4 separate regions of the Homo sapiens genome follow, and all the other regions are linked to region 4. Evidence: promoter capture Hi-C in 16 types of primary human blood cells and fetal thymus (Javierre and others, 2016). All regions are on one chromosome and are shown on one strand. The core of a region is centred on a gene start or on the middle of the fragment in contact, and the rest is flanking DNA. Distances in the headings are between cores, read along the strand shown.

What was found. Contacts are between HindIII fragments. The CHiCAGO score rates a contact against its expected background, and 5 or more counts as called.
Region 1: the fragment with the promoter of OR2AG2 here is called in contact with the fragment with the promoter of CYB5R2 in region 4 in 1 of 17 cell types (M1 macrophages); the score reaches 5.3 in M1 macrophages.
Region 2: a contact is called between a fragment that was not itself captured here and the fragment with the promoter of CYB5R2 in region 4, in 1 of 17 cell types (neutrophils). The highest score is 5.1, in neutrophils.
Region 3: a contact is called between a fragment that was not itself captured here and the fragment with the promoter of CYB5R2 in region 4, in 1 of 17 cell types (total B cells). The highest score is 6.0, in total B cells.

Annotation. Positions count from the first base shown.
Region 1 is chr11:6,770,636-6,773,497 of GRCh38, reverse strand. OR2AG2 (olfactory receptor family 2 subfamily AG member 2) reads left to right here and starts at 1,522. Exons shown (of 2, transcript NM_001004490.2): 1 at 1,522-1,876. The HindIII fragment of the contact is 9,473 bases long and covers 1-2,862 here.
Region 2 is chr11:6,812,363-6,815,073 of GRCh38, reverse strand. No RefSeq gene overlaps it. Among named protein-coding and RNA genes, the nearest start is that of OR6A2, 14 kb to the right of the region's middle. The HindIII fragment of the contact is 3,399 bases long and covers 1-2,711 here.
Region 3 is chr11:7,156,046-7,159,091 of GRCh38, reverse strand. No RefSeq gene overlaps it. Among named protein-coding and RNA genes, the nearest start is that of RBMXL2, 69 kb to the right of the region's middle. The HindIII fragment of the contact is 1,190 bases long and covers 1,039-2,228 here.
Region 4 is chr11:7,672,173-7,674,906 of GRCh38, reverse strand. It overlaps CYB5R2 (cytochrome b5 reductase 2), which reads left to right and starts at 1,407. Exons shown (of 9, transcript NM_016229.5): 1 at 1,407-1,488; 2 at 2,016-2,159; 3 at 2,384-2,456. The coding sequence starts at 2,082. RefSeq lists a silencer at 895-1,104 and enhancers at 1,625-1,724, 1,745-1,794. The HindIII fragment of the contact is 8,029 bases long and covers 1-2,734 here.

The sequences.
Region 1 (2,862 bases), core at 273-2,772, 900 kb after region 4:
TTTGCTGGCTTTCTGAAATAAAGTTGTCTTCCTTGCCCCAACACCTTTTCTCTCCACTTATTGGCTGTCGTGTGGCAAGTAGTAGAAGATTTGGACTCGACCACATTTAGCAGTCCAGCTCTCTGCCTCCTTTCACTATAACTATTAACGCAAATTTCATGTCCATCATTTTCTTTCTTCATTTATATGTAGTTTTATTGAATGTACACATATTTATAGGAAGTTTATTTTCACTTAAGTTCTTAACACTGCAAAAGAAGTACCACGATATATAATCCTAAGGTGTCTCTTGCTTCCCTTAATATTAGTTTCCTAAGTTGCTTTTTTTGTTGTATGCTCTGGTTCCTTTGTTTAGATTCCTACATAGTAACCCTTTGGTGCATATCTATCTATTCCACTGTTGATGGGCATAAAGGTCGTTTCTAATTTTTATTGTACTGTGAATAATGCTGCTCTTATAATTTACATGTTTAAAACCGTCTTTTCAGTACATTCCTTTTATAATTAAAAAATAAAAAGATTTTTATATTAGTTCTTCTGTTGCACTTCTGAAATAATTTTGAGTATATATTTTATATAAACAGAAAGTGGAAACTTATTTTTATTTTTTTTAAGTTCAAAGAGAAAAGATATGATAACTCCGGAAGAAATTTTCAGCATTTCCTGGTGAAATGGCTGATTAAAGAGATACTAAAGAATGAGGAAGATTAAGCACAGAATTGGGTGAGAGATGGGAAAGCCTGAACTAAAAGCAGAAGTGAGTGCAAGCAGGTGCTGTGTCATCATCCCAAAGCTCTGAGCAGCTCAGCTGACTGATCACAGAATATGTAGGCCCATGAACAAATGAACACACACAAGAGGGAGTAGAAAGGAGAAACAAAGAACTGAAAAATAAATTAGTGCTGGATCCTCATTAAAGCTCAGTGAAGGAAGACCTGATATTAACAGAAGCATAGTTAACTCCCTCTAGTTGGTAATAGCCCAGGCTAGTGGCACAAAGAGGGATATGTGAGTGGCAGCATCTATAGAACCCATGAGACAGACTTTATATTTTGGACAGAGGGCTGGACAGGGAGGTGTTGCTTTTCAGATTGGTTACTGACACTATCTATTTTGTCAGAAACAGCCTCTGTCTGGTTTTCCGGTCAGTGATTTCTAGGTTAAAATTATAGTTTTGGTTTTGTAAGGCAGGAGAAAGATCTTAGACTCCAATGAGTGGTGAGACACAGCAAGCCCATGGCGGGCAGAACAAGGCCTCAAGGTTCAGAGCTCATTTGGTGGTAAAGTTTGAAGAAATGGCAGGCCAGGAGACATGCCCAAGGGGATTTATTAAAATCCCATTTCCTGGAGCAATATTTTCAGGGGAGGTCATGTCAGCTGAGAGGGTGAGACTATGAACCCTCCCCCAGGACAGGCCTCACTGTTGGCGCAGAGACAGTAAGGCTGGGCATTGGTGGGTCTCTTTTAAGCAGCTCTTCTTATACCTCTTTTCTCACATTCCTGCTGTGCTCCTCTTTTATCATGAAACACAGCATGAGGGGAATATATGAAATCTGAGGACCTGGACTTAAGAACTCAGCTAGAACCATTCCAAAGCAGTAAGGACTTTCTCGCAAGGACAGTGAATGAGAGAACTTTGGAAGAGATTCAGCTCCTCACTTCTGCAGGATCCTGCCCTAGGTTCTCAGCTGCCTGTCTGCATCTATCTCTACTTCCAGAGAGGACTTGCAGTGCCAGTGACTGGAGGAGCCTTTGATCTCTGATCCTAGAGACAGCCATACACACACCTACATTCATCCTGGCCAGAAGAAGCAACTTTTCTTTCTTTGGCTTCTTGAACCTCTTTACCTGGAAGCTATGCCCCTTCCCATATGAGGTAAGGGCTCTGTCTCCGTTTCAAGGCAATATGGGAAGTCTGGAAGTCCTGAGAAACAGGGTCAAGACCTTACACTGCTCTCCTTCTCAGATTCTCTAGTTCCTCAGGCTTTATGATTCACTCACTCCCATCTATATCTTATCAACCTTGTACATGTACCCATCTTGCACATGTAGGAACAACCAAAATAATTCTATGCCATTGGCCAGCCGTGAGTTCCTAGAATTCCTGATGATGGCCTCCTGGTAAAAGTCTCAGTACTTACCTTTGTTACATCTAGATTTTCCTGGCCTCCAGTAGTTTGATGTGAGTCCCCAAATGAATAGTACCTCAAAGGAGGACTATCTAAAATATGCTGAAGTGCCTTTCCCCTGCAGGACTGCTTGGCGCTAAGTCCAGTGCCACACAAAAAGCCAAATGAAGTAAATACAAAAAATAAATATACTGAGCAGAGATGAAAAAGAAAAACTTATAAAATATACTTCCAAAAATTTAGCTCTACCTTGTTAATTGACTGACCATTTTCCATAAACTATAGCAATGCCTCTTAATATCAGCCTCTGCTGACTTCTCTTGGTTTGAAATACCCGCAACCACCAGCAGTTTTCCAGAATGAAGCTCTTCCTCTGTAGGCCCAGTGTGTGTTCTCTGGCCTTTCCCTTTAGATGACCCCAGAGAGAACTCAGTAAATGGAAAGAAGGGAAAACAATAGTCCCGTATCAGAGGGAGGAGGTAGGTATGTAGGATCCTGAGTCCTGGTTACACCACCTTACCCAAGCCCTGATTTTTCTTCTCTTTGAAATCCTGTCCAAACATCTGGTGCAGGAAGCTAGAAGAATGTGCCCAGCTAATTATGTTCCTCCTTTTATTTACCTGTCCATTCATCTTTTTATTCAAGAAAAATGAAGGCATTTCAAATCTAATATTTAGCAGAAATAGTGCTTAGAATTGACTTTGGACTTGTGTTTTTGTTGTCAACAGACAAA
Region 2 (2,711 bases), core at 58-2,557, 860 kb after region 4:
CATATGTCAAGACATCATGTTGTATACCATAAATATATACAATTTTTATTTTAGTTTTAAAAATAATTTAAAACCAGCCAGGCACGGTGGCTCATGCCTGTAATCCCAGCACTTTGGGAGGCCAAGGCAGGTGGATCATGAGGTCAGGAGTCTGAGACCAGCCTGACCAACATGGTGAAACCCCACCTCTACTAAAAATACAAAAAAAAATTAGCCAGGTGTGGTGGCGCACCCCTGTAATCCCAGCTACTCAGGAGGCTGAGGCAGGAGAATCACTTGAACCTGGGAGGCGGAGGTTGCAGTGAGCCAAGATCGTGCCATTGCACTCCAGCCTGGGTGACAGAGTGAGAGTCCATCTCAAATAATAATAATAATTTAAAATCGAAACCTTTTTTTTTGAGACAGGGTCTTACTCTGTCGCCCAGGCTTGAGTCGAGTGGCTCGGCTCACTGCAACCTCCGCCTCCCAGATTCAGGCAATTCTCCCCACTCAGCCTCCCGAGTAGCTGGGATTACAGGCACACACTACAATGCCCGGCTAATTTTTGTATTTTTTTAGTAGAGATGGGGTTTCACCATGTTGGCCAGGCTGGTCTCGAACTCCTGACCTTGTGATCCACCCACCTCAGCCTCCCAAAGTGCTGGGATTACAGGCATGAGCCCCCGTGCCTGACCAAAATCAAAACGTTTTTATCACCCCCAAAATTTCTCTCATCCCTTTTGCAATGAGTCCTCTAGCTGTGCCCCCTGGACACTGGCAAACAATAACTTGCTTTCTATCACTATAATTTTACCTTTCCTTGAATTGCATGTAAATGGAATCACACATTAGGTAATCTATCGTGTCTGGCTTCTTTCACTTAGCATAATGCTTTTAGGTTTCACCCATGTTGTTTCATGCCTCAGAAGTTTGTTATTTTGGTCAAAAGTGTGGACCTACACAAATTCATCAGCAGTTGGCAGTGGTTTGGCTGGATGATAAGGGACTTGGAAAGAACAGGATTTGAATGTTGGTGATAAAGAAGTCTGGGAAAGAGGTACGCTAGGTGAACTTTTTGAATGGGCACAGACTATGAATTATCTGTGTTCCAACAAAAGGCATCCACTGTGGATGGCTAACTAGGGATGTCAGATGTGAGTTCTCTACAGAAAGAAGAGACAAAGTTACAGATGAGTGATCATGGCTGGAGTGGAATGCTGAGGAAGAATGCAAAACCAGTCAGAGAAGCCACAGGAAGAAGCTCAGGTGCAGAAAAGGAAGGCAGCAAGACTCTGGCAGAGATTGACTCCTGAGGAACTTGCAATCCCACAGAAAGTGTAGGTGGGAGTTTCTTTGTTCTCCTTACCCTTGTGACAGGCTGCTGAGGACCAAATTGTTGAAGAGCCTCTCTGCTCTTGTAAGCCCAGGCACTGCGGTCAGGAGGAATTTGGAAACTCCCTGGGGGTCCAGCACTTAGTAGCCAGTTTGTGCAGGTTCACACACACTCCCCTTGAACCCAAGTTGAAATGGTAGGCACCGTGTTGGTTGTACACTGATTGTGGGCTACTATCCTGCCCAGAGAATTTCAGTCTTTGTTTCTTCATACCACTAGATCCCCAACAAACATTTTCCAGATGCTGCTCTAAGTGCAGCGAACACAGGGGAACAGTGGGATCCTTGGGAGTTGCAAGATCCTTGGATATCCAGTTCACAGCATGGGCTGCTGCTGGGAGAAGGCACAGTGCAGCCCACCAAAACACCCTTTAGAACAAAGGAAACCAAATAGAAAGCTCTCTCCTGCCTGAGAGCCCCCTACTTGTGTCCAGTGGGTGACTGTGCCCCTCCCAGAAGAGTGATGGGTGCAGTGGTTGTCTCTGAAGGGGAAAAGTGTTGTTCTGCCCAAGCAGACAGGCAACACCAGTGGCTGGAAATGGATGAGGGGAATCTTCTCCCACTCCCCCAGTCTACTGTTGTGGACAGAGCCAAGGTTTTTCCCACTGTGAATTGGCATAAGTGCACTTAGAGTGAGGCTTTCCAGCATGATTCCAGGTGGTTACACCCCCACTGAAAGTGTACCTGCCTCCTGGAATTGCATAAAGGTGGAGCACATCTCCCCCTCCCTACACAGAGCTGCTGTGTTCCTGCAATGGAATGCAGACCAGCCACAGAGTTACCTGTCTTAAACCAGAAAAAGAGGTTCAGCCTCAAGGCTATCTCAGTGGTACCTGCAGATGGGCATTTTCCACGGGCCCTAGTTTCATTGAGACCTGGAGAAAAGGGTCAGTGTCTATCTGAACTGAAAGTAGCAAGCCTGGTGACAGGGATGTAATAGACATGTAGGTTGTGTTCCTGGCTGCCCAGGATAAGGAGGTGGTGAGGTCCCACCGTGGCACCCCTCACGTTGAAGACATCAGCCCATCCCACCATGAGCTCCTTCCACCGCCTCTGTCAAAGCAGGTGCTTCCATTTGTCATCAGAGATGAGCCCGCTCTTACTCCTTATCGCCATCTACTGGACTATAGACTGAACTGCACCACCAAATAAACCTGCTGACAGAAGGGCATAGTTCTAGGGTATGGGAAAAGCTCCCTGAGACCTCCCCACTCCCAGCACCACAGAAGATAATGAGTCAGCTCATATACCCAATATATCACTAAAACAATCAACATTTGAGAAAGCCACTGCACAAAAGCTATCTATAACTAAGGAGTTCATACATAGCCTTGGCCCCC
Region 3 (3,046 bases), core at 384-2,883, 520 kb after region 4:
GGCTGGGTTTTATTATATTAATGTATCACATCACTTAGTGCACTGTACCAAAAACCATTCCCAAACATCAGTCACTCAAAATAATGATCATTTATTTCTCATCATTCAGTGGGTCGGTAATTTGGGTTGAATTCAGAATCTCTGCTCCACATGGTTGGCTGGGTTTACTCATCTAGAGAGAGATAGCTGGGAAGGCTGGGCTGCCCCCACTCCATATGGTCTATCATCTTCAGCGAGGCTGGCGTTGACTTGTTTTCATGGTTGAAGTGTCCCAAGGGATGAGAGAAGATGCTGCAAACAGTTATACAATGTGGCTTCTGCTACATTCCATTGAAAAATCACATCACAAGAGCAGCCAGCTTCAAGAGACAAGAGAATAGACTTCACCTTTCGATGAAAACAGTTGCAAAGAATCCATGGCCATTTTTATCCACTAATTCAGTGCATTCCACCTGTGTATTGTCTATCTCCATAACTAGATTGAGGAATCTTCATGAGCCTCCTCTTGATACTGATTTTAATGTACTGAGTGACTGGCACAGTGTAAACTGCTCAATATGGAGTGAATAAATATCAGTTGCATGTTAGGCAGTGATCAGAATACAAATCTATGTGGAATACAAGACATAGTCCCTGTTCTTGAGTAACCCATAGTGCCTGGTGCCATCCGGTAGGAGAGAAAAAAATGGTGAGACAAAATTTAAAGGGTGTTTTCAAACAACAGAAAAAGTACTATTCCAACAGGAAAATGCAAAAACTAATTACTATATAAATGGGACACACAGGTCAGATAAGCAAGCACACGTTGAATCTGGTATTTGCATTAAGACTTGCATTATGTTTTGAGGAGGGGATTTGGATTCTTAAATAATTGGGCATATGAATTCATAACTAGCCGGTCATTCCATTAGTAGATGGAACATGTGAGAAATATCCCAGGGACAAAAAAAAAATTTTTATTTTCAAAAAGAGTGGCTGCCCACTTTGCCCAGAGCAGGAACTGGTGTCAGGATATGCGGGAAGATTACAGGAGAAGCTTGGTATAAGGCTCTTTGGATTTTATCTTCTTGGTGATAGGATTTTAGAGCAGAAGAGCATTGGGATGAATATTACATGTGGAGAGTGAAACATGGGAGCAGATGTAAAATGTATGGAAATGGGAGAGACAGAAAGTAAAAAAGAGGCAAGTATGATGAGAGCCTAAAGATCACGGTAGCTGAATGAATAAGAGCAAGCAAGGAGACTGGCAGTTTTGGAGCCCTGCTGCTCTTCAAGATGTATTGTTTTATCTAATCTTTTGATAATACTGTGATATAGATGTCCAAGCCACCAATTTACAGATAAGAAAAGTAAAGCTCAGATAATTTAGGTAACTAGCTTAAGACCATACACTAATTAATAAAAAAAAAAAAAAGCTGGTTCTTCTTACCTTTGAGTTAAATGTTTGATTACGCACTTCTCAGGATATAAAAATATTTTATTATGGCCGGGTGCGGTGGCTCATGCCTGTAATCCCAACTCTTTGGGAGGCCGAGGTGGGCAGATCACGAGGTCAGGAGTTTGAGACCAGCCTGGCCAACACGGTGAAACCCTGTCTCTACTAAAAATACAAAAATTAGCTGGGCTTGGTGATGCGTACCTGTAGTCCACCTACTCAGGAGGCTGATGCAGGAAAATCACTTGAGCCTGGGAGGTGGAGGCTGCAGTTAGCTGAGATCGCACCACTGCACTCCAGCCGGGGCCACAGAGCCAGACTCGATCTCAAAAAAAATATTATCCAACTTTTATTTTACCACAAGTTTGTGCAAGTTCCTCATCACGTGATGAGTGGGTTTCTAACATAATAATATGTTGATCCTGCTCTCTCTATTTCTGCTCATACAGTGGAGAAGGAAACAGGCACTTCAAACAAACTTCACAGGAGTGAAAAGGAGACAGAAAAAGGAAGATTGAGCACAGAAATATTAAGCCACTAAGTTCCAACCTAAGTATTAAGTATTCATTCAGTATATATTTAGCACTTAATAACATACACACCCTGAGCAGAGTGCTGGGGAGAAAAGATAAATCAGGCATGATTCCTATCTTTCAAAAGATAGAAAGAGGAAATTGTCAAGTAACAAATAAATACAATAATTATGGCAAAAGAACATACGAAATTCTGCACACAGTAAACCAGGAGCCACATAGGAAAGGCCTAGTTCATGCTGAAGCATTGAAGAAAAGCTTCATAAAGGCAACAGACCTTGATTTCATGTTGATAGATGAGAAGGTGGCCAAGTAGTAAAAAGGGACAAGGAAGCTAGGACAGGTGTTGAGGATATGAAGCAGGATATAGTGACTACAGTATACAAAGAAAGACAGGATCGTATTGTGGGGAGGACAGATTATGTGGGACAGGATATTTTAACTGGAGACAGTATAAAACAACAGGTAAAAGGGCCAGACTGATCTGCTTCAAATCCCAGTCTGCACTTTCTCCCAATTGGCTTTAGCCCAGTTGTTCAGCTTGCCATTAAGCCACCATCTGTAAAATAGAAATGATAATACCAAGCCTCTCTCTCCTGACTTCTAGACCAACTGGGGATCAGACAAGTGTCAAATAGAAATCAAAATATCAGCTTCAATCTGATAAATCTGGATTGGTGTCTCTGGCTTGGATTTGCTATAAAAATGCACTCCCTAACACTTGCTCCGTAGCTCATATGTTGGGCCCTACAGGTGAGGAGAGTTGGAGCTTCTGAGAAAGCACTTAGCATGGAGAACTGAAGTCGACTCGCACCCCCATTGAGTCTTGTTACTGAGAGTATGATCCACAGAGTGGCCACCTCAGCATTATCTGGGAGCTTAATCAAAATGCAGAATCTTAGACCCCAGACAAGACCCACTGGGTCAGAGTCTGCACTTGAAGATCCTCCAGCTGACTCTTATACACATTACAGTTTGACAAGTGCTGAGAAACTAGACTAGTAGATTATTTTCTCCATCTGGTCTATTAGATCCATCACTTCTTCTCCCGTGGGAGCAAGCCAACGAAAGATGGACA
Region 4 (2,734 bases), core at 158-2,657:
GTACCTAAGGATATGACCTTATTTGAAGGTAGAGCCTTTACATAGGTAATCAAGTTAAAACAAGGTCATTAGGATGGACCCTAATTGAATATGACTGGTGTCTTCATAAAAGGGGAAATTTGGACACAGGGACACACACAGAGGGATGAAAATGTGGAGACATAGGAAGAAGATGCCCCTTCTCCTAGCCCCTCTCCTACAAACCTAGGAGAGGCATGGAACAGATCCTTCCCTCACAGCCCTCAGAAGGAACCCACTCTGCCCACACCTTGATTTTGGACTTCCAGCCCCCAGACCTGCGAGACAATAAATTTTTGTTGTTTAAGCCGCTCAGTCTGCGGCACTTTGTTACAGCAGCCCTAGCAGAGTCAAACAGGTGGGGATCTGCTTCTGGGCTTCTCTGTTTCACACAGGTCCTGAGGCAAGAATTTGCCTTTGCCTGTAATCAAGGGCGAGCCGGGCAGCCAAGGTTCCGAAACGCACCGTGAAGACCCTCTAACTGTGCCTACTATTCTGCTCCCCTCCGATCGGCGCGGGGCTCTTGTCCTTCCTCTCTCCACCCAGCGAATGAATGAACGCAGGAGCGCTCGGAGTACACGTCTTCAACTCGGCGACGCCCCTGCTTCGGCCCCACCCCGCAAACACCCGCCCCGGACCAGGCCCAGGGTAGGCGCCCATGAGGTATGTCGAATGAATATATTCGCGCGCTCTTTGCAGCTGCCTGAATTCTTCCTTCCCCAGCATCCCCCTCCGCCCGGTCACCCAGACGGCCTTCTCCAGCCTTGCCGAGCTTAAGTAAGCTGAGGGGCGCTCAGTGTGGCAGCTCTGCGTGTGCAGGGAAGGGGCCAGGATGCAGAGGGGCAGCGCAGGAGCGAGGACGCCACGGCTCAGCGCCCCGCCAGCCTCATGATGGAGCGCTGCCCTGGGGGCAGGGCTGACCCAGAGCCAGCGGCTCGTGAGTGAGAGCCCCCCGACCACGGCCCTTCTCGGGGAGCGGGCCAGCCGCCGGGGTCCCAGCCTGCGGGGTCCGCCCGCGCTTTTGTCCTCCCGGGCGTGCGTGTCCGGGTCTCGGCCGGTTCCCCGTCGGCCAGGCGGAGCTGCGGGGCGACGCCACGAGTCTGCGGGCCCGCGGCGGGGAGCGGCCCCCGGCCAACCCCAGTTCGACGACGTGTTGGGCGTCTCACTCCGGGTGGGTTCCGCGGCGGGGTGTATTTATGGAGTATTGAAGAAATATCTCCGTCGGGACGGCCGGAAGGAAAGAGGCCAGAGGCGCGGAGGCCGGCTAGAGCCGGGAACGAACGTCCGACCGGGAGGTTGGGGGCCGGAGCGGGAGGCGTGGGGAGAGGTCGTGGGCGGGACCGCGAAGGGCGGGGAGTGGGGCGGGCCGGCTCGGATTCCGGAAGGCTGAGACTCCAGTGACCCGGCGGGAGGAGAGGCAACTTTCCCTGTCGGGCTTGAGTTGGGAGAGGAGCAGGGCGGCCTTGTAGGGTAGGGACAGATGCGGGGAGGCTCCCGAGTCTCTGGCAGTTGAGTGCCCAGGCCCCCTTCGCCCTGTCCAGGAGACTGTTGGGGAGTCCCCAGGCCCTAAGTCACGGGGCACCTCTTAGAGCTACGCACCCTAGTTCTGTCTTTAGGGACTGGGCCCCTCATTCCGGATTGTGTGTTAGGGGTGATGTCCTCCCCCTTCACCTCAAGGAAGGGACTTCCAGTGTATGAACCTTTGGCTGTAGCCAGGAGGGGCCTAGTGACCTGAGCACCCCAGGCCATGTGTGCTGCCTGCTCCAGGGGCCTGAAACATCCTTCCTGTGTGACCTGCAGCTGACCCCTCCCTACCCTCTGGTCCACGACAGGCTCTCCCAGCCGCCTTCTGTGTCACTACTGTTCTCTTTGCCTATTTCCTGCAGGCAGAGCTCAGCTCCTGTGCCTTTGGTGTGGGGAGGGTGTTCTGCGCCTGAGAGCTGCCCTGTCCAGGGCGGGCAAGACCTGAGGTGCTCTGTTCACATTGTGTCTGCCAGGACCCGTCCCTGCTCCTGACCATCACCGTCACTGGGGTCACTGTGCTCGTGTTGGTCCTGAAGAGCATGAACTCCAGGAGGAGAGAGCCAATCACCTTACAGGACCCTGAAGCCAAGTACCCGCTGCCCTTGATTGAGAAAGAGGTAATGGGTCAGCCCTGTGGGTGGAAGGCAGTAAGTGGATGATGGCTGGGATGGCAGGGCATCCAGACAGTCATCTCATGGCCTCCAGTTCACTCCCCGCCGCCCTGTGTGTGTGTGTGTGTGTGCTGGAATAGCGCCAAACGGACCTCCTTTCCCAGGCATCTCAGCTGCCCAGCAAGGCTTCTAGAAAGCTGACAGAACCTGCCTATGTTTTGTTTTATCAGAAAATCAGCCACAACACCCGGAGGTTCCGCTTTGGACTGCCTTCGCCGGACCATGTCTTAGGGCTTCCTGTAGGTGAGCCGGGCTTGGGTCATCACCAGGACTGGGGCCTCTGGGGGCTAGGCCCTCCTCTCTTAACAGAAACACAGGTTTCCCACGTCCTGAGGTGTGGAAGATGCCCTCTTGCTCCTCCTGAGCCTGTGAGCTCAGGGAGATAGATAGGGGGATGGATGTGGGACAGAAAATTTCTTTTCTTCATTATTCCAATTGGGCTGACACGAGAGTGGTACCTCAGTGAGCATTGAAAAGAACTGAACCTAGAGCCAAAAGGCCTAAAATCTCATGGAAGGCTC